Linked DNA regions of Homo sapiens: region 1 is linked to region 2. Evidence: promoter capture Hi-C in human tissues and cell types (Jung and others, 2019). All regions are on one chromosome and are shown on one strand. Each heading gives the region's core, a stretch centred on a gene start or on the middle of the fragment in contact. The rest is flanking DNA. Distances are from core to core; before and after follow the strand shown.

Region 1 (4,805 bases), core at 1,588-4,087, 34 kb after region 2:
GCTTAATAAGATTAGTTGTCTGGGCAATAAAAAAATAAACTACAATGAGATACTATTACATGCCTGTTAGGATGACTAAAATTAAAAAGATTGATCATACCAAGTGTGGCAAGGTATGGAGAAATTGAAACTCTCATGCACGGCTGACATTAACATAAAATGGTACAATCTTAGGAGGCTGAGGTGGGCAGATCACCTGAGGTCGGGAGTTTGAGACCAGCTTGACCAACATGGAGAAACCATGTCTCTACTAAAAAAACAAAAATTAGCTGGGCGTGGTGGCGCATGCCTGTAATCCCAGCTACTTGGGAGGCAGAGGGAGGAGAATCGCCTGAACCTGGGAGGCAAATGTTGCCATGCCTGAGCCGAGATCACACCATTGCACTCCAGCCTGGGCAACAAGAGTGAAACTCTGTCTCAAAAAAAAAAAAAAAAAGAAAGAAAAAAAGAAAAACGATAAAAAAAAGGTACAACCACATCAGAAAAACAGTTTGGTAGTTTCTTCAAAAGTTATGCATACACCTACCATACAATCCAGCCATTCCATCTCTATGTGTTTACCCAAGAGAAAAGAAAGCATGTGTTCATACAAAAACTTGTATATGAATGTCCATAACAGATTTATTTGTAATAGACAAAACTGAAAACAACTCAAATATACATAAAGAAGTGAATGAATAAACACATGGTTGTATATCCATTCAGTGGACAACTACTCAGAAACCAAAATGAAAGAACTATGGATCCACACAACAATATGAATGAATCTCAAAATAATTATGAGTGAAAGAATCCAGACTAAAAGAGTACTTATTGCCTGATTCCATTTATTTAAAACTATAGAAAATGCAAATTAGTCTATAGTGTCAGAAAGAAGATCAGTGGTTTCCAGATTGGGGACAGGGTATGGGGAGAGGCAGGATGACAATGAGAAAACATTTTGCAGTAATGAATGTATTCAATACTTCAATTGTGGTGGTTTCACAGGTATGTATTTATTTTAGAATTTTCAAAATGTACAGTTTAAATGTGTGCAGTTCATTGTATGTCAATCGTACCAAAAACATAAAACTAATCTATGCTGTTTATGAAAAAACGTAGCTTAATGTTATAGACTCTACTTTCTCTACTATGTTCCCAGCAATCGAAATTGTTTCCTCTGCAAACAACACAGGAGGGTAGAGTTTCTAGACAGTGAGCAAGGAAAAAGGGGCTGGACAGTACAGCTAGAAGTTATACTTGGCCTCTGCTCCAGAGACTGGTTAGAAGGGAGAAAAAAACAGAAACATAAAGGAGCTTCAGGAAAAAATGGGAGGGTGGTGTGTCTAGATGAAGCATGATTGACAAAATGTTCATAATTTGTGTAGTTGGATGATAGGTATATGGGTTTTGTTACAGAAAAAGTGATATTAGCTTAACATGTGAGTTAACAGAAGAACTAAAACCCAAAATATTTGAAAGTGATTGTATCCTGGGAATCAAAATGTGGGAAAGAGGGGCAGCCATTCTTTACTGATTGAATTTATAATGATTAAATTTGTATGTTGATTTTTTAAAAGCAATTTTGCAGAAGGAGGATTGATTAGTCAACATTAGGCATGTGTTAAAAAATGTTCACCTTCCCTTGTAAAGTCACTAAGTTGTATAAATCAATTAATGATTAATGCAGTAGTTTAGCAATTTTGATAATCACTTGTTTTTTGACAGCTGAAGTTTTTTCAAAATTCTGATTTATCTTTATTTGTACAGTTTGGGTAGAGGAAAAGAATTCTAAATTTGGAAATTATAAGTACTCAGACATTTGAAAGCTCTTAGGCTTTTATTTAAGAATATATAATTTTGGTAGAGCTTTATGAGCTGAAAAGAATTGTCAACATAATATATATATATATGTATGTCCTGGGCTCAATATATGTATATATCACCATAGGCTGGGTCTGGTGGCTCATGCCTGTAATCCCATTGCTTTGGGAATCAGAAGTGGGAGGTTCCTTGAGCCCATGATTTTGAGACCAGCCTGGCAACGTGGCAAAACCCCGTATCTACAAAAAATAAAAAGAAAATTAGCTTGACGTGGTGGAGTGTGTCTGTTTTTCTAGCTGCTCAGGAGGCTGAGGCAGGGCGATCCCCTGAGCCCAGGAGGCCAAGGCTGTAGTGAACAGTGATGGTGTCACTCCACTTCAACTTGGGCAACAGAGCGAGACCCTGTCTCAAACAAAGAAACAAAACCAAAACAAATACCTTGTACTTCTAGGTGAGAGGCATTTTTATCATATTCCACATCACTATGATCTCTCTTTGCATAATAGGGAGAAAAATTTCAGAAATGAGAAAATTCAAGAAAGGAAAAGAATGTCTTCATATTCCTCTTGTTTCATCACTCTACTTCGGGCGAATCTTTGATTAAAGGAATATATATATATATTTATACACATACACACACATATATATACATATATATATACATACACATATATGTATATATCTTAACATCTATAAATTTGGGAGATTTTGGGTTCTGAGGATTCAGAAAAGGGTTCTGAATTCATTGTGAATTCAAAATAGGTGATCCAAATGGTACCCTCACTTACTAAAGAAATTGGTTGCTAATAAACCAAAGAAGATAAAAACACAAGAAATGCCATACTGGATCATATCAGCATCTCTTTAGAAGTGATACTAAAATAAATCTTTGTGGGAGAACCCTGTGCTTCTGTTCAAAGTAATTAACCTCAAAATATTTTTCAAAACACCCTCAATATCCCAAAACATCTTTTCATATCTCATTAGGAATCTATAATCACTGAATTTACCCAAATCTTTCTTTGACCTATTTGAAGTGGAGGGTGTGCAGCAAAGTGTTAAGGGCACAAACTGCAGTCTGTTAAGTTTAGCCTAAAGCTTCCTCCTTTTAAGTTCAGCCTAAAGTTTTCTCCATACATAGTGAACTGTAACCTAACTGGATGTATAACCTATTCTTGTACCAATCTCCAAGGTTCAGCCAATCAAAGGCGGCCAACTGTTCAAACTCTGTGCAGTGTAATAAGACACTCTTACCAATACAGCTGTTTCTGTATCTCACTTTCATTTTCTGTACATCACTTTACTTCTTTTGTGCATAAATTACCCCCAACCATGTGGCAGTGAGCTAGAGTCTCTCTGAACCTATTCCGGTTGCAGAGAAGGGGGCAAGGGGTGGGGAGAGTGACTGCCTGATTCATGAATCATTATTTGCTCAATTAAATTCTGTTAAATTTAATGTATTTCAAGTTTCTCTCGTAATACGTCAAACAAACCTGGGTCGGACTCTTAGATCTTGGACAAGGAATTTCTATGAACCTCAGTCTCATCATTTGTAAAATACAGATCATTAAAGTAACTACTTCACAAGTATGTTGTGATATTCAAGGAGAAGATTCATGCAAAACACTTAGTATAGGGTCTGACAGTCAATACTTTATATGTAAGTCATTGTCATTTTGTATTTTCAGCATGTATATTTTCTTGGTGTTTACCATTATTAGTACCAGATCTATTCTATTCATTAAAAGAAAAATTCTTTTTATAATAAAGGCTGAGCTTTAAAAGGATGAAATAGTCAATCATCCACATAGCATGATTTCTAAGAGTATCAGGAAAATACCAACCCCTTCGTTCCCCCAGTCCCCACATGAACACAGCATACTCTTCTATTCACTTCCATTCCACCAATAAAGTGCTATCTCTTTGCTGACTTGGTTGAAATTCAGTTCAAAATTCAAATGTTCCCATTGTACATTGAAACTATAGATTAAACAAAGAATCTAAGGCTGATTTTGATTCTCTGGAAAGGAGAGGCTAGCAAAGGACTGAATGGAAGAAGCTGGGTCAAGTAATGCTAGTAACTACCAGGAAAATCTAACTCTCCCCTCCTTTACATCGTGGTTAAGGAAGCTATTTAGTGCACTGGTTCTCAAATAGTTCTGACAAATAGAATCACTTGGGTCATTTGCTCAACACTGGACTCCCAGATCTTTCCCCTGGGATTTTGTAGGTTTAGGACAGGGCTCAGGATTCTGAAGGTTTAATGAGCATTCAAAGGATTCCTAAGAGCTGACAAGTTTGAGAAGTGCTGGAGTGATTAGGGGCCCAGGGTTTGGAATCAGACTACACCTGAATTCAAATCCTAGCTCCCCCTCTTGGAGATGGCTGACCATGGAATTAATTGGCCACCCTCAACCTCAGTTTTCCTCCCGCAAAATGTTGCATTGGGATTAAATAAGTTAATATATGTAAGACATTTGTCTCACAGTGAGCACCGAAAAAATTGTTGGCATTATTATTGTGTTTAGTTTCAATTCATTTATACTTATATATGAATCCTTAGAGTCTCCTGGGCAAGGTGCCAAAGTGGCCAATGATTTTCAAGAATTTTTTGTTTGCTCTCTAACACGTCCTTATCTTTGAAGCCAGAGTTAGAGAAATTAGCATTGTTATTTTGATTAGCTGTTGTGGGTCACCTTTTATATCTTTATGCCTTATCATGTAAATTAAGCATTCAGAGTGTCTGAACATTCCAATTCATACCCTCTACCATAGGCACTGGACATCACCTGTCCCTGGAATGTTGATTTTCAAGGCTTCTCTTTGAGTTCCAACTTGAAAAGACCCAAGAACACTCTCTTATCAGTTTCAGTTTAAGCAGGGCTTTGAAAGAGCTTCAGAGTTTGACCTCCATGTTAGAAGGGGTAGGTGTCAGAGAAACAAGAAACAGAAATGGACAGACAGTAGAAGAGAAAGCAGGGATAAAGTTAAAGACATACCTA
Region 2 (4,566 bases), core at 735-3,234:
AAGAATCCCAGATGAATTCTTTCCTGAAAAGCTTACTAAATCTTACTGTTTGGTCAACTTGCTTGCCTTAAAATGTGCCACAATGTCTTCCTAAATTTGTTTTTGTTAACTCTGACACATCTGCTTGTAAAATCACGTAAGGCTCAAAAGTTATGTTTGAGCAAAAAAAGAAAATTCATGTTAATATTAACAAACTCTTGGATTCAAATCTTGTTCTACCGTATCAAGCTATGTTCAACACGGAACAGTGAAGTTAGCTAGGAACCGGAACAGTGAAGTTAGCTAGGAACTGAAAATGATACGATCTCATAACTATCTAGTTACCTTGTCAAAGCAAGTAAAACATAAAAGATGAATCAGGACAAATGGCTAAAGGGAAGAGAAGAATATAATCAAGGTGTTACTACTAACAGAGATAAGTGTTTTTTTTTTTCTCGAAAGCATACTTCTTAAAAGTGGCAGATTCTTGCTAGACGTACCAAACCATTTGTGGAAACTATCAGTTAACTTTTTACTTAAATTTTTAATCACTGATTAAACCACAGTTTTGTACTGGATCCAAACCAAATGGCCAGATGCCATAAGAAACGGCTTTATTTATATGTCACCCTCTCCTTGTCTATTATAATCAAGTTGGTAGTTAAAGCTGAAATCTATACATTCAACATGTGGCTTGTGCTTCGGATCTGGACTAAGAATACAGCTCTAAGGAGTATCTGCTGAATTTGTACAGGAAAACCCTTTCCCCTCACACCACCCAAATTAGAAAGTTTACAAAAAGCGGAACCCTTCTGATGAGCTGAGGAAACTCCAGTATTTCCCAATGCAATACCAGGCCTCATCGATTTCATTCCTCTGCACATTCAGTGGCAGGAAATGGACTGCTACCATCGGTTCACACTATCAGCACGGTGAGATTTGCACAGTTTGTGCCTACTGCTTTTGAGCGTTCTTAATCAACTAAGTGGAAGTACTGTATGACTATGCCTATTACACACACTCGACAGTTGGTGGTACCTCACCCAGCCTCAAACTCCCACGCGCCCCCACCCTTCCAAAGAAACATTTCTTGGGAGAGCACATGGAGAGAGGCAAGGAGGAGGAAAAAGGCACGTAGGCGCCTCTTCCTGAGATTTCTGGTAAAGTAGAAAGACTGGGAGCATAAATAGTGTTCTTCTTGATTTGCGAAGCTGTAGGTGGGCTCCCAAGGACTTGGAATAAAAAGGAGGGAGGTTCCCCTGCCCCGGACCCTACGCGTTAGGAGGCAAAACAGCAACTAACAAGAAGTGGGAGGAGAATGGAATCGCGCAAAGGTTTGCGCCCACAAGTTAGACAAACAACAGCCCTACCCAGTACTCGGGGTGTCCCCAAGTTGGGGCTGGGCCTTTCTCCTTCCCGCACCGCCTCCCGGGCTGACAAGAGTGAGAAAGGGGTTAAGTAGAGAAGGGGGTGCTCTTCCGCCCCCACGCCGTCTCCGCGCCTCGGCGTGGCCACTCCTTTAGCGGCTCCCCGAGTTGCACAGCGAGGTCGCGGTCATCCTTGGGAGGGGGCCCCGGGTGCCCCCGTGTTCAATGGCAGGAGGATCCCGGGGCTCTCCCTGTCCCTAAGGCCGGCGGGGGCTGCGGGAGCACTCACCAATTTGGGTTTGTTTTTCGTTTCCTCTTCATTGGCGGCCCGGTTCCCCGCGCTCCGCTTGTTGCTCCGGCCCCCACCGGGTTCCTCGCTGCCGCCTCCCGCTCCCGACGCCGCCGCCCCGGGCTGCTCCATCTTTCTCCGGCCCTGTCACCTGTGCCCTGTAACCCCACCTCTCCTCAACTGAGAAAGCACCTCGGGGCGCTCACACTGCCCCGCGCTGACTCGGCGGCACCTCTTCCTGAGGGAGAGAGTGTCTGCCCGGGAAGCTGCCGATTTCAGGCCCCCGGGACTCCAGGCTCCCAGGCACCCCCGACGCAACCACGCCGTTGCCACTACTCGGCGCTGGGGCAAGCCCTGCCCCTGAGCAGTTGCAATTACCACGGTCGCCGCCGCCCTCAGGGCGGTGTTTAGGGTGGAGGGAAAAGTAGGTGCCTATCTCTTTAAGAGGGCCTCAACACACGTGATTCTTCAAAGTGCCCGCATCGGCCGCCCGGGCGCGCAAAGCTGCTTCCTACTCCCGCAGCCGAGCCGGCCCCAGCTACTGAGCATGCCCGGCGCGGTGACTGGAGCCTAACAGAGCACTTTCAGCTGCGGTTAGGCACTGATTTCACTTCCTAGTGGCCCAGCGAGAACAGGGAGGGAACTAGTCAAGAGAAAGGAAGGGTAGCCCATTTTAGAGATGGGGAAACTGAGGCCCGGGAAGATCCGCCTGTAAGTTTCACTGGCGGGTCAACCTGAGTATCAGCTTTCACTTCTGTGGGCCACAGCACCTTCCCTCCCTGAGGCCTCTCCGGGGGTGTGGTCCTGCTACAGTCTGTGGAAAGACTTGATTGGCAAGGGAACTGGCATCCTATAGGAAAACCACCGGGAGTGCTGATTAATTGCCTCGACAGACTGTGTGTGGGTCAGAGTGGAAAGAGTGAGTGCTTTCTGTTGTCGTGATTACGTTGTGACCGAAGAAATACAGTTGTTCCTTTATTCCCTTGCTGCAGGGTTGTTGAAGCAGCAGGCGCCCACCGCTTAATCCCTAGGGGATTGTTAGGTTCTATAACCAAAACACTTACATACAGCTAGCAATTGAATTGAGTGCTATTTTCAGGTTCCCGAACTAGTTTAGAGTTGTTGTGGGGAGTGAATAAGATCATGTGTGTCAAAGCTTTGTTGTAAATGAAAATCCCTAGACAAATGCTAGGTGTTTTTGTGCAGCAGCAGGGCACTGTTGGGACGATAGTCTTAAGTCCTTGCGTCATACCTAGCATTTTGTCCTCAGGACAAAATATAGTACCCACACTGTATTTCTTCCATCCTCTTTAAATGATGCCCTTTAAAAGTAAAGGTACACACTGAGAACATTAGACGGGGTGGGTAGGATTTGAATGAACCACCATCATAGAATAGGAGCACATATGCTAGGAAAGCTACCTATAAAGTAAATTTAAATATGAAATCTATAAACATGCCATACACCTATTACTGAAGATATCTCCAGACTATGACTCCTTTTGACCTTCTCCCCTTCGGCCTAAATTTAATATGCTGAATGGAATTTGTATCTGAACATATTTATTGAGAGTGCATTAGGATGCATTTGACCATGCTATAGGTGCAAGGAGACAGCTAACTTGGGCAGTAGAATGAAAAGAACACCAGATATCTGAAAACAGCTTTAATTCTAGCTTTGTCATTGTCATTAACTTTCTTTTTTTTTTAATTCTGAGACAGAGTTTCCCTCTTGTTGCCCAGGCTGGAGTGCAAAGGTGCAATCTCAGCTCACCGCAATCTCCACCTCCCGGGTTCAAGCGATTCTCCTGCCTCAGCCTCCCAAGTAGCTGGGATTACAGGGACCCACCACCACGCCCAGCTAATTCTGCATTTTTAGTAGAGATGGGGTTTCTCCGTGTTGGTCAGGCTGCTCTCAAACTCCTGAGCTTAGGTGATCCGCCTGCCTTGGCCTCCCAAAGAGCTGGGATTACAGGCGTGAGCCACCGTGCCCGGCTGACTTTCTTTTTAATCATGGAGGTGTGACTTCTCTACTCCTAAGGTGGCAAGCTACCAAAGGACAGCAGAGAAGAGGGAATACATGCTCCCAAACAGGGTGCTCAAGGAGCCCCATGGTAACTTTGCTTTGTTGAAGTTCCCGTTTTACTTACTTAAAGTTTAGTGTATATTTTGAATTCAACTCACTACATACACACACACACAAACACAATTTATATAAATGTCTCCTCTCCTGAAAAATTGAGTCAAAATGGGTGCTTCAGAAAGACATGACCTGTTTAGCCAATGCGTAATTCCTGTTTGTGCCATAGGTGTGGTCCATAGCTGAGGGCCCTCCAAGCGCAAACATGGTTCAGTAATCTGCCCAGTAGACATTTCTTCAGCTCCTTAGAGTACACTAGGTGATACAGAGTGTCATGAGTAAGAAGGATGAAGATGACACAGTTTCCGCCTTTTAGAACTTCAGAGCCTACTGGGAGAGACAGACCATTAAAGAACTGCACTGCACTATAACAGATATGAACAGGAAGCCTTTGAAGCACATGAAAGAGGTAACTATCGGAGTGTCAGAGGCTCAGGGACACCTTCCCAAAGAAGATGATGTTTGAGCTGAGTCTTAAGGGTCTGATTCAAGTTAACATTTGTTGGCAGCCTACTAAGTGTGAGGTACTGTGCAAGGCATCATGAGTACAGTGGTGAACAAGACAGACATGGTTTGGTCTTAGGGAGCTTTCATGCTATCGGGAAAGATATATATAGTTTCACTCTTATTGCCCAGGCTAGAGTGCAATGGCGCAATCTCAGCTCACGGCAACCTCCGCCTCCCAGGTTCAAGCGATTCTCCTGCCTCAGCCTCCCGAGTAGCTGGGATTACAGGCATGTGCCACCACGCCTGGCTAATTTTGTATTTTTAGTACAGATTGGGTTTCTCCA

Evidence for each region. Contacts are between HindIII fragments. The study calls those that stand out against the background at their distance.
Region 1: a fragment that was not itself captured here is called in contact with the fragment with the promoter of DIAPH2 in region 2 in 2 of the 25 tissues and cell types used here (hippocampus and stomach).

What each region holds. Positions count from the first base shown.
Region 1 is chrX:96,648,456-96,653,260 of GRCh38, reverse strand. No RefSeq gene overlaps it. Among named protein-coding and RNA genes, the nearest start is that of DIAPH2, 34 kb to the left of the region's middle. The HindIII fragment of the contact is 7,113 bases long and covers 1-4,805 here.
Region 2 is chrX:96,682,260-96,686,825 of GRCh38, reverse strand. DIAPH2 (diaphanous related formin 2) reads right to left here and starts at 1,984. Exons shown (of 27, transcript NM_006729.5): 1 at 1,636-1,984. The coding sequence starts at 1,767. RefSeq lists enhancers at 767-1,480, 1,481-2,196. The HindIII fragment of the contact is 18,479 bases long and covers 1-4,566 here.